Linked DNA regions of Homo sapiens: region 1 is linked to region 2. Evidence: promoter capture Hi-C in 16 types of primary human blood cells and fetal thymus (Javierre and others, 2016). All regions are on one chromosome and are shown on one strand. The core of a region is centred on a gene start or on the middle of the fragment in contact, and the rest is flanking DNA. Distances in the headings are between cores, read along the strand shown. Region 1 has its middle 3.1 kb from the start of SATB2-AS1. Region 2 holds the start of ZDBF2 (zinc finger DBF-type containing 2).

Region 1 (5,966 bases), core at 3,143-5,642, 6.8 Mb before region 2:
CCGGGCTCTGAGGGCCCGGCATCCATCCCCAAGGTCCATGGCTTTCAAGTTCGGTCACCCAGGCAGAGAGACCCTGCCTTTTAAAGAGCCCTGGAAAGTTGCGCCGCGTTTTCCCTCAACCCTGGAACACGCAGGGAAAACTATGGGAATCGCCCGCGTCAAAAGCTTTCGACGGCTTCTAGGAACCCAAGCGGGCCTGCCTCTTCCCCTGGAGCTTGCCCTCCTGGGGGCGGGAGGAGGGCGGGAGGGAATCATTTCTTTCAAATGAAGCCCACGCCAGCTCTGAAGCCAATTTCCGCCGCGGACTGTCCGTGGAGAGTTGGCGACCAACACTTTCTCGGACGGCATAACCGCGAGGGGCTTAGACTGGAAATCAGATGCGCCAAGAGGACAAGAGCCAGGGGCCAGAATACCCCAGTGGGGGACGCGCCTTGGAGGACGGTTCGCCCAGGGTGGGCTTCAGCCCTTTCCCAGAGTGCTCCGGGCGTCTGGGGACTGACCGGAGCGCAGGGCGGGGGACACTTACTTCGTTATCCGCACGCCTTCCTCGTTGGCATCAGAGCCGGACAAATCCCAACCCGCGCCAGGCAAAGATAAATGACTCCTGGCTCCCCCGGCAGCTCAGGGGGTCTGGGCGGGGGCGGAGAGGGAAGGAAGCCGTCGGCCGCCGGAGGTAGAGACTGTGGAGGTCCTCCTCCCGGCCCCAAGCGAATGAGCCCCTGCGGCCCGAGCAGAGAGATACGCCTCAGAGGGACGACTGATGGGGAAGGATGGTGGGCAACGAGTCTGCGCTAGGCGGTGAGCCTAGCACCCCAGAGGCCCGAGGGTCTGGGGCTAGTGGGGCCGACCGTTCAGGAGCCGGGTGGGCGGGAAGGGAATTGCCAAGGTCGGCCCAGGAGCTGCCTCAGGCGAGGACGGGGAGCTTTCTGCACTGGGCTTCCCGGGGTAGGAGATGGGCGTCGGGTGTGGGCACTGCCTGCCCTGGGGGAAGAAAGCGAGGAGATAGGTTTCAGAGCTGGGGGAGTCGTTGGTGGGAGATCTGGTGTCCCTTCGGCGGCCGCGGGCCGGGGGACCGGGGAAGACGGAGGGTCCTGCGGCCTGGAGCACCACCCTACCACACCAGGCAACGCCCCCCGGGGCGCCCTTCATTCTTTTGCAGAGCCCAGAACTTAATAGGTGGGTCCCCTTCTGCAACCACGCTGCGAGAGAATGACTGCCCTGCTAATCTAGTTTACTTGTAGAAATCGACTGTAAACCGGGACAACAAGGCAAGGGTGGGGGAAGAAAAGGAAGCGCCGAAGGAGCCGCCGCTGCGTCCCCGCCCCCAGCTCGGAGCTGCCGGGGTTGGGGCCCCGGGTGGCGCTCCCGACCCGCCGCGTTTTCCTTAGGGAAACACCGAGTGAGGCAGAGGATCTCAGGCCCAAGGTGGCTGCGAAGAGCCCCGAGGCCTCGGCTTGGCGTCAATGTCCCGCCACCCTCGAGCCCGGGTCACTGCCCGGGTCCCGGCCCGGAGCCCCAGCGTCCTCTCCCGACAGCGCCACCGCGTGGGCTGAGGCCGAAACCTTCGGCGCCGGCTCTGCCGGTCGCGTCCCGGAGCCAACCCTTCCGCGTCGCCTGCAGTCCACGGGTTAAGGATGTGGCGGGGGATGGGCAGGTCCCTGGCCCAGGGTACCACCGGGCCACTCAACACAAAAACGCCCTGGCGCGTGCAAAATACGAACGCCCACAGTTTGTCCCAACCCCTTGAAATGAAAAGTACACCTGGAAAGCCCAAGATAGCACCCGGTCCGCACCCCAAATTTCAGGCAGGCCAGCAGGCGTCCAGAAATCCGCTCCCACCCCTCGTAGGGGCAGGCAAGCTCAGGCAGCCGGGTGCAAGGGGGCCCAAACCGCAGTTGCCTCCCGAACGCTTTGAGGCTATGGGCCCACGCCGGTCTTGAACCAAGCGGAGAGGGCGAAAAAGCCCGCTGCGGGACCCACGGTCCCAGACACCTACTGGAGCCAGGGACGAGGGGGGCAGTGTATCCGGCGGCCCAAACTCGTAAGGAGTGGGGGCCAACTTAGAGGGCTTCCCGAGCTGGCGCCTCGCCTGTTTTCTCGGTATCACGAATCCCCTCGGACACCGTTTCAGTCCGTCAAGACCTTGGCCTCCGGGAAAGGCCCAAGTGACTGTGACGGCGGCGACTCGGGCTCAGTTCTCCCCCACCCCGTGGTGCCTTCCCTCCCCGCCCTACAGCCAAGCCCAGAGGAACAGGGCATCGCCTCGCGCGGTCCCGGAGCCACATCCGGACTTGGGAACCCCGTGTCGGGCTTAGAGGACTTCACTGGGCGGGTTGGGGTTTATTTTCAATAAATTCAGCTGTTCACATACACCCCCACCACCATTTCCACGCGCGCGCGCGCACACACACACACACACACACAGAGGGACTTGTCAACTATTGAGACAGCGACCCAGAAAGGTGTAAATTCACCTGGTGCCCACCCAATTGCAAAGCTCCCAGACCCACACAAAACACTAGCGAGCCCTGGAGGTCTGAGACGCCCCGCGCCCGACTCACGGCGCGAACACCAGCGCTCCGGCCGGGTCGCAGGGGCCGGTGCCCAGCGGGCCGGGGTCTGGCGAGCCAGGCAGCGGGCCGGCTGAGCTCCTGCGCCCCGCGGTCGCGTGGCCTACTCGCCTACTCCCTTATTATTGGCTGGGACCTGTTCCTTTCCAAAGTGTGATGCCCGGTGTCCTACCCTAGGCCACGCGGAGCTCTCTCCCGGCGTGTCGGGCCCTGCGCCCCTGCCCAGTGGCTCACCTCGGCTCGCTGCGCCCGCCTTCGCCCCAAGTGCCCAGGACGGAGCGAGGGGCTGTGGGTCGGCGCAGGGACGCTGGCTGCTCACCTCCAGGAGCCGACAGAAGGTGCCTTCGGCGTCACGCGTCCAACCCTGGGGCTGATTTAAATAACTAATAAGCTCAGAGAAATTTTACGAGGGGAACTTTTCCTTTTAGTATCAATAAAGCCTAGTAATTGGGTTTGTTGGTTACCTAAGCTCGAGTTCGACTTTCTCAGTCTCTCTCTCTCTCTCTCTTTCTCATTCAGAGGCAACGTTTTCAAAAACCGGCAATTGCGTGTGCGTTTGGGGTGTGCAAGTGTGAGTGTAGATGTGTGAAAGTTATTTGTTTCAGCAGTCCTTGTCTCGAGAGCAATCATCATTGTAGCTTTGAGTGAAGAGTTTTCAAAGGTGAACTGTTGTTATTTCTGTCAACAGAAAACTGTTGACAACCATTCAAGTCTCACAATACAAGTATAATATAAGGGAGGGTGGAATATCTAAAGACTGTCCCGTTGGATATGACAGAAAGACATCTGCAGTGTTTCCCTAATAGTTTGCATTTTAATTAACTTTCATTACATTCTGACTTCCACTCAATATCCGTTGTTTTCAGTAAAGACTTCTATATGATAAAACGTTGTAATTTTTGTTCTGGTTTTCCAATCTTCTTGAAAACCAGTTCTTAATTGTAAGGAATTTTTCCACCTGGGAACCATGCCGTAATTTAAAAATATAAAAGACCTTTCATGAACAATAACTGCAAATAACCCATTTGTTAGTGTCTGCGGAGTTGCTGGCACCTATACAAAGTCTCTGAAATATAAAGGCAATCTAAGAATGTTTCTCTCCAACCATAGTGATATATACTTTTTTCGTTTTTGTTGTGTGGAAGTTAAAAACACTTTTAAAGTTACTTTTTAGAAAAGTGTTGTGCTAAAATTTACCTGAACTTAAATTCCTTATCAATGTTAGCCTAACGAAATGAAGAGTATTTCTGAATCAGATTATTGTTAGAGTCATATGCTAAATAGTAAAGGAAAAGAAATGGGAATTAAAGTTTGCAAACCAAGACCAGGGAAAAGTCGGCTCCAGAAGTTACCAGGAACCCACCCAAACCTGTGCACTCATATCTCCTGTATTTACATATTATAGACAACTTTTCCTTTCCACTTTTAGCTAGAAAAGTGGTGGGCTCCCCTTAGTTCGTCTCGTTTTATGCTGTAAGACCCAAAGTCTGCTGAGGGCTGCCCCTGCCAGGTAACTTCCGGAGACCCGGAGTTACTTGGAGACAGACCCGGCCCTTTGCACATTCCAAGTGAAGGACGTCTCGCGCATTCTTCCCAGAGCTACCACACACCTAACCTCTTCTGGACACCCAACAGCTGGGGCACTGGAGCACCTGACCCTACTCAAGATCATCCCCCAGCCCTTGCCGGCACTTAGGGACAGCAGAATCTGAGCTGTGGGTGTACATACTCCCCATTTTCTGCTTTCCCAGAGGATCACAGACAACTTTTCTTCCCATCTGCTCCCGCTGGACTCCTATGATCACCCATCATCCCCAGTTGTTGCTATCTCTGAGCTCTTGGTGACCAGCCCTTGTCCCCCAAGCTGACCAAGTTGAGAGAGTACTTGTCCTCCCAGCACTGTCTCTCAGTATCAGGAAGTTGAGATCAGTGGCAGGGAAAGATGGAAGGATTGGCAAGGAAAGTGCAGGGCCAAGTAGAGTAGCTCAGAGCCTCAGCAATGGGCACCTGTCCTCCCCCAAACAACCTGTGGTCTCTCCGGCTCCCTGCTTTTCCACCATTGGTCCCATCCTGGGCTACCAGCCTCCACTGAGCTGCTCTGGGAACTTAGGGTGTCTCACATTACTTCCCTGCTATGGCATATTTTGGTTTCAGTTGAGCTATTTTCTGAAGATGTGGATACTCCAGTTTTATTCTTTTTCTGTCTGTGTCTCAGTACTCTTTTCCTTTTTTAAGAATGTTCCCCAAGCCTGGCTTTTGCCAGACCCTGTGCCATCTCCCCAAGCTCTATTTACAAGAACAAGAAGTGATTTGTCTGTTTATAGCAGGTTTAATTAAGACAGTTATGCGCCGTGAACTCTTTGGGCCTCAATCAATGCACTTAGATTTGGAAACTCAGATAGAATCACATCTTACACGTGCGGCCCCGGCTGGCCGCCCAGGCTGAGGACAGAGCTATTGTTTTCTACATCAGCCTCACTGGAACTGGGCAAGTCCCCTGCAGAACTGGCACCCCCTGCTCCTCCCAAGAGACCTCAAGTCAGGTCTCCCGGCCAGACTCAGGCCTTTCTAATACAGGCGTGAAGGGCGGGACGCCCAGAGCCCTCTTGTTGGCCGGTGGCTAAGGAGCCAGGTGGATAACTTCTGCGGATTCGGCTTTCAGGCTGCTGGAGCTCTCCCCAGCCCGAGGCCTTAGCCCAGCGCAATCCCTTGTCCAGACCGGCCAGTTTCCGCGTGGCGAAAAAGGGGGAGGCAAGTGTGTCTTTTCCAAGGAGCTTTTATCCAACAGCCTCCCCTCCCCCCAACTCTCAGCCTTAGGTGCCGGGCTTCAGCCGAAGCGTTTTTCAAATTTGTCATCATTGGAAACCTCGGACAAGTGGAGTGTAAAATTTTGAGGGTTTCCAGGTAGGCTCTGACTTCAGGCATTCAATGAAAGGGGAAGAGGGCTGAGGGCGGGGGAGAGAGACAAGCACAGAGGGCTCCCTGTAGTCGGCAGGAATTCCCTCCCTCTGCAGCCCAGCTGCACCCACTAGCACACACTAGTCTTGCCTTCTCCCGGCTTTGGAAGAATCCCCACCACATTCTTTAGCTCTCAGAAAGGAGAGGGCAGTCAGGTCAAGGTCTTTCAGCATCCCTACCGCAATATACCCCTCCCAGCCCCCTCACCACCACCACGTTGGCCTAGGACACAGGACCCCGGGGCCAGGGCCTCAGTGACTGCAGCTTATGCCACCTAATGCAGAATGGGGTGTCCCTGCCTCCACTGCTCCTCTCGGTCTCAGCATCCAGGTCCTGAAACCCCTGCGATTCTGGCCTGGGAAGCCAGACTTGCCACCAACATCATGGTATCACCCATAATTGATCCACTCAGTTTTCAGTAGATGTGGAATCCAACAA
Region 2 (5,200 bases), core at 1,751-4,250:
CAGGCTGGAATGCAGTGGTGCGATCACGGCTCGCTGCAGCCTCTACATCCCGGGCTCAGGTGATTCCCCCGCTTCAGCCTCCTGAGTAGCTGGGACTACAGGCATGCACCACCATGCCTGGCTGATTTTTTTGTAGTTTTTGTAGAGATGAGGTCTCGCTGTTTCCCAAGTTGGTCTTGAACTCCTGGGATCAAGCGATCCTCCCGCCTTAGCCTCCCAAATTGCTGGGACTACAGGTGCGAGCCACCATACCTGGCCTATTTTTATTTCATACTCAGTAAAAGAGCACTCTCAGACTTTGACACATTTATTATGCATTGATCTTGTGAATGCATAAAAAGAGACATATAAGTAAAATTGGTTTAGGTATTTCAGAAACTTCATATTCGGAACTCAACTTTCATTTTATTTATTTTTTTAATTAATTAATTTATTTATTTATTTTGAGACGAAGTCTCACTCTGTTACCCAGGCTGGAGTGCAGTGGCACGGTCTCAGCTCACTGCAACCTCCGCCTCCCAAGTTCAAGTGATTCTCCTGCCTCAGCCTCCCCAGTAGCTGGGATTACAGGCATGTACCACCATGCCTGGCTAATTTTTGTGTTTTTTTTTAGTAGAGATGGAGTTTCGCCATGTTGGCCAGGCTGGTCTCAAACTCCTGACCTCAGGTGATCCGCCCACCTCGCGCTCCCAAAGTGCTGGGATTACAGGCGTGAGCCACCGCGCCAAGCCCAGAGCTCAACTTTTATGAATCACTTTTTGAATCAGTTGTCCATGGCTGTAGCTTTCCACCAAAAGTGTTGGTGATGCATCTAACTTTAAGAATGCTCCAGCTGGGCACAGTTACAGCTCATATCTGTAATCTCAGCACTTTGGGAGGTGAATGTGGGAGGATCCCTTGAAGCCAGGAGTTCGAGACCAGCCTGGGCAAAAAAGTGAGAACCCCCATCTCTACAAAAAGTAAAAAAATTAGCCAGGCATGGTGGCACACGCCTGTGGTCCCAGCCACTTTGGAGACTAAGGCAAGAAGATCGCTTGAGCTTGGGAGGTCAAGGCTGCAGTGAGCCGTGTTTGCGCCACTGAACTCCAGCCTGGGTGACAGAAGGAGACCCTGTCTCAAAACAAAAACAAAAACAAAAACAAAAAACAGAGAGGGAGAGAAAGGAAGGAAGAATGCTGCACTATTGTATGCAGGATTTTCTTCCAAGCAGCTGATCTTATTCTGCAAGTTTTGATGCTGGCACCTTCTTGATCTCACCTGAATATGTCAATTTTGTGTTTTCACGCAAAACATTCAGGACTTGTTTTCCTCCTTCAATGGTGTTATTGAATAAAAGCTGTAGGGGTTGTAACTGACTAATCAGGCTATCAAGAATAATATCGAAGTTATTTCATTTTTGGGGGGTGCAAGTAGGCTTAGTATTTAACTGTTCATATATGGGTTCCCAAAATCCATCAAGAATGAATGTACTTGGTAAGTAACTCAGGGCTCCCAGAAGACTACTAGTTCTTAGCCAGTCCCATCTCTTTCTTTTCTAAATGCTGGGGAAATCTCTTTTTGGTCCTAGGAAAATCTTCTCCAGGCAAATCTTCCCTCTTTCCCTAGGAAAATCTCTCTCCAAGTTTGAGTGACTTTTGTCTGTTAATTCCCTTCCTCCTAGGGTTATGGGTTTTATTAAACAATGCACTTATCTCAGTTGAAATGAGGACAACCTGCACAGCAACATCCACGTTGTAATACGTGGAGGTAATGACAACCAGGTCTGTACTGCCACCCGGTCAACGAGAGTTTATAAGATGCATCTTGATTTCACAGATGTTAAAATGTGGGGAAAAACATGGCTTAGCATCTGTGAAATACATAATGTCATGGTGCTTCGATCAATGTATAGTGGATTTTCTATAATTCCAAAGTTGGGATGTGGAAAAAACTTGCCTTAAAAGAAATCCGTACTTTTTGGTATGTTAAATCTAAGGGAGGTTATAAATCGAACAGTTGCAGGAGCCCAACTTTAAAGTGAGAGAAAGATGTAGTGGGGGAAGAAGGAGCTGAGAAATACAGAAAGAATAAAAACAATGGACGCAAAAGCAATAGGCAAGTTTTTTTGTTGTTGTTCTTTAAAGGGACAAAATCACAAGCTTACTAAAAAGGGTAACGACAATTACAGCTACAGCCAAAGAGCAAAGTAGCTCATTTTAAGATTATTTTTACATTAGACATAAGCTTTGCAACAGGGCCTCTCTCCATTTTAGTAAAATTGGTTTAGGTGTTTCAGAACCTTCTTATCGCAGATTATAATTTCATATTCAGTAGTGTGATTCATTTAGGTTTGTGATCTCCGTTACACTTAAACTGTTTTTGCTCACAACTATATTCGTAATGGGGTAGCGCAGTGAATATAATTGCATGACCTAATGTTGTTTGTTAATATTTGTAACCCTTTAATGTGCAGGATAGATCTTTGAATACCTAACTTCCTTAAGCCTCAGTTTTCTCAATTTGTCAAAGGGGGACAATAATAGGATTCATTCAGAGTTACTCTGAAATGAAATGCAATAATGTATAGAAACCTTAAACGGTGCCTAGCACAGAGCAAGCGCTCATTGAACAGCAGCTTTTGTGAGATGCACCTCACTATGAAATAGGCATGGAAACGGAAACGACTAGCTCTCTTAGCCCCGTTTTCTTTTCTACATTCATACGTTGCTTTGAATTGGCAAGCAGTTTTTATTTGGACCCTCAAACGCTAAAACCTTGGTCTCTACTTCGCGTCCCAACTGTGCTTATGAGTCTAGTCATTTTTGTTGGAACGCGATAGATTTCCCAAGCTCCGGAGTGGGGCCCTGACCAGGGAGGAAGTGTCCGCTTTAAGAGCTTCTGGAGGGGAGGAAGGGGCTCCTCCGCCCGGGTGGGAGAGTGAGTGAGTGGGTGGGCGGGCAGGGGGCGGTCCCGCCGCTCCTGCGTCAGAAGGGGTCTGGTTTTCGCACCTTCCCTGACGTCAAACCTCCATCAGGGTTGCAACGCCACGTTGCCTTGGATGCCTGCGTGAGTGGAGTCGCGACTCGGGGCCCGCGTCCTGAGAGACGCGCTCCCGCGCCGCTTCTCGCCTCCGGACCGCAGGGGCCGAAGTCGCCTATTTCTGGCTCCGCGGGCAGCGGGGCCGTGGCGCTCGGACGGTCTGGGATTCGGGCGCCGCCGCGGAACCGGAATAAGAAGGGAGAGCGCCCGGCTCGGTCCTCGGTCTCCACCGCGGCCCGGAAGGAATCCGGGCAGCCTCCGCGGAGGTGAGTGCCGCGGCGGGGGCGGGGCGCGGCCGGGGCGACGCCCGCGGGCGGGGCCTGCTCGCCGGGCGCCCGGGGCGCCTTCTTCCCGAGGGACGCCAGGACCGCTCGCTGGGCTCCCGCGGCCGCCTCGCAGGTCCTCGGCTTCCCCCCACCCCGCGTCCCTTTCTGCCCCTGCTGCGTGAGAGGTGTCGGCGGCTCCGGGCCGGGATCGAGGTGGCGGGGCGAGGGAAGGAGGTGGGGCGCAGGCTGCATTGCGCTTCTGTCCGGGGCCCTGGGTCAGAGGGGCCGGCGGACGAGGCCTCGGGTCCGGGCTTGGGGAGGGGGCGGTCTGCGGGGTCGGATTGAGGGCCGGGAACCCGCGGAGTCTTGCCCCTGGGCACCTGTGGGGCCGAGATCCCGAGCCACCTGTCCACACACCCCCTTCCCCCAGTGCCCTGCGTTGGGTCCAGCTGGCCCCAGACCTAGGCCTTTCCCAGCCTCGGGCGATTATAGTTTATTTGAAAACGTTTGATTTTTGTGTTAATGATTCTTTTACTACCGCCGTGCAACAGTTGTGTAAATGTGGTCGTGTTACGCCATCGTTTTTACTTGCTCCTAAGAAGGGCCTTACCAGCTCCTGCGATTATCTCACGCGATGATTCTTGGTAGCTCGTGAAAAAAATGCATAACAAGATACTGGTTCTCAAGGGACCAAAACCCCACCCCCACCTAAAGGAAATAGCTTGTTTTTGTTTTTCTTTTTTACAGCAATATGCTACGTGTGGGGAGGGGGAGGGACGATGGAGGCAGCCTGTAGCGATCTCATCCTCGAGAGAATCTGCTAACAATTTGGGGGGTATCTTTCCTTCCTTTTTAATTAATACACAAACATATATACGTGTGTTACATAAGGGGTGTTTATTTGCTTTTTTCACTTAATACGTGGAAGACCTTTTCTCTATCGTTTGAACCTAAAGCCTAGAAGGCAAGAAAGCAACTCGTTAGAGAGTTGATAAAGTATCACTGCAGTGGCCAGTGATTTGGATAGAAATAAGCTGAATTCAGGGTAAGAACTGGTTTCTATAAAATATGGTTTACTCTGCATAATAATTGGAGGCAGTGTTTTTTCAAACTGAGTTTTTTCAGCCGGTTCGTGAATGGTGAAATTAATTTAGTCATGACTAGCATTTAAAAAAAAATAAGATCGCATAAAAAAATCAGAATGCATTATATGTAATGAGAGTATTGTTTTGTGAAAAATATTTTAACTGTGCGCGTGTGCATTGTGAAATTTAGTGGGTCGTGACTAGCATTAAAAAAAGTAAGATCGCATAGAAAATATCAGACTGCATTACATGTAATGAGAGTATTGTTTTGTGAAAAATCTTTTAAGTGTGCGTATGTGCCTGTGCGTGTGTGCTCGGTTGTAATTAAAAATTTATTGGTTCCTGTGTGTCATGTTAAATAATCTTGAGAGTCGCTAATCCAAGGTACTGTCAGCACTCAAATGAGCAAGATGCAATTAAACTAGACATTAGTTTTATTTTTTCTTTGGAATAGTGGTGATGTTGATTGCAGCAAATAAGAGTCCTAATTATTTGTTTTCACCTAATATTAAAACAAGTAGTATTCCTAAAAATACAGAGAGGAAGTGTCTAAGTCGTTAAGAGGTTAAAGCATAAACTACTCAAATTGACCAGTGATCACATCTCAGTTACGCTGGTTATTGGTGTGAGACCTGCAACAAGATACCTCTTTTCTCTCAACCTCAGTTCCCTGATTTGTTAAATGGGAATTAATCATGGCAGCTACCTTATAAAGCTGTTTGTTATTTAGATGAGATAATGCACAGGAAGCTGTTGACAGAGCGCCTGGCTCAGATTAAGTACTAAGTATTAGCTATTATTATTTTATTAAGACTGAATAGAGGTGTCTAG

The links. Contacts are between HindIII fragments. The CHiCAGO score rates a contact against its expected background, and 5 or more counts as called.
Region 1: a fragment that was not itself captured here is called in contact with the fragment with the promoter of ZDBF2 in region 2 in 2 of 17 cell types (total B cells and naive B cells); the score reaches 18.6 in total B cells.

The regions. Positions count from the first base shown.
Region 1 is chr2:199,462,032-199,467,997 of GRCh38, forward strand. It overlaps a transcript of SATB2 not described here. Among named protein-coding and RNA genes, the nearest start is that of SATB2-AS1, 3.1 kb to the right of the region's middle. RefSeq lists an enhancer at 284-1,049. The HindIII fragment of the contact is 8,458 bases long and covers 164-5,966 here.
Region 2 is chr2:206,271,663-206,276,862 of GRCh38, forward strand. It overlaps ZDBF2 (zinc finger DBF-type containing 2), which reads left to right and starts at 3,001. Exons shown (of 5, transcript NM_020923.3): 1 at 3,001-3,284. RefSeq lists silencers at 2,896-2,955, 3,236-3,695 and an enhancer at 3,359-3,858. The HindIII fragment of the contact is 6,855 bases long and covers 2,222-5,200 here.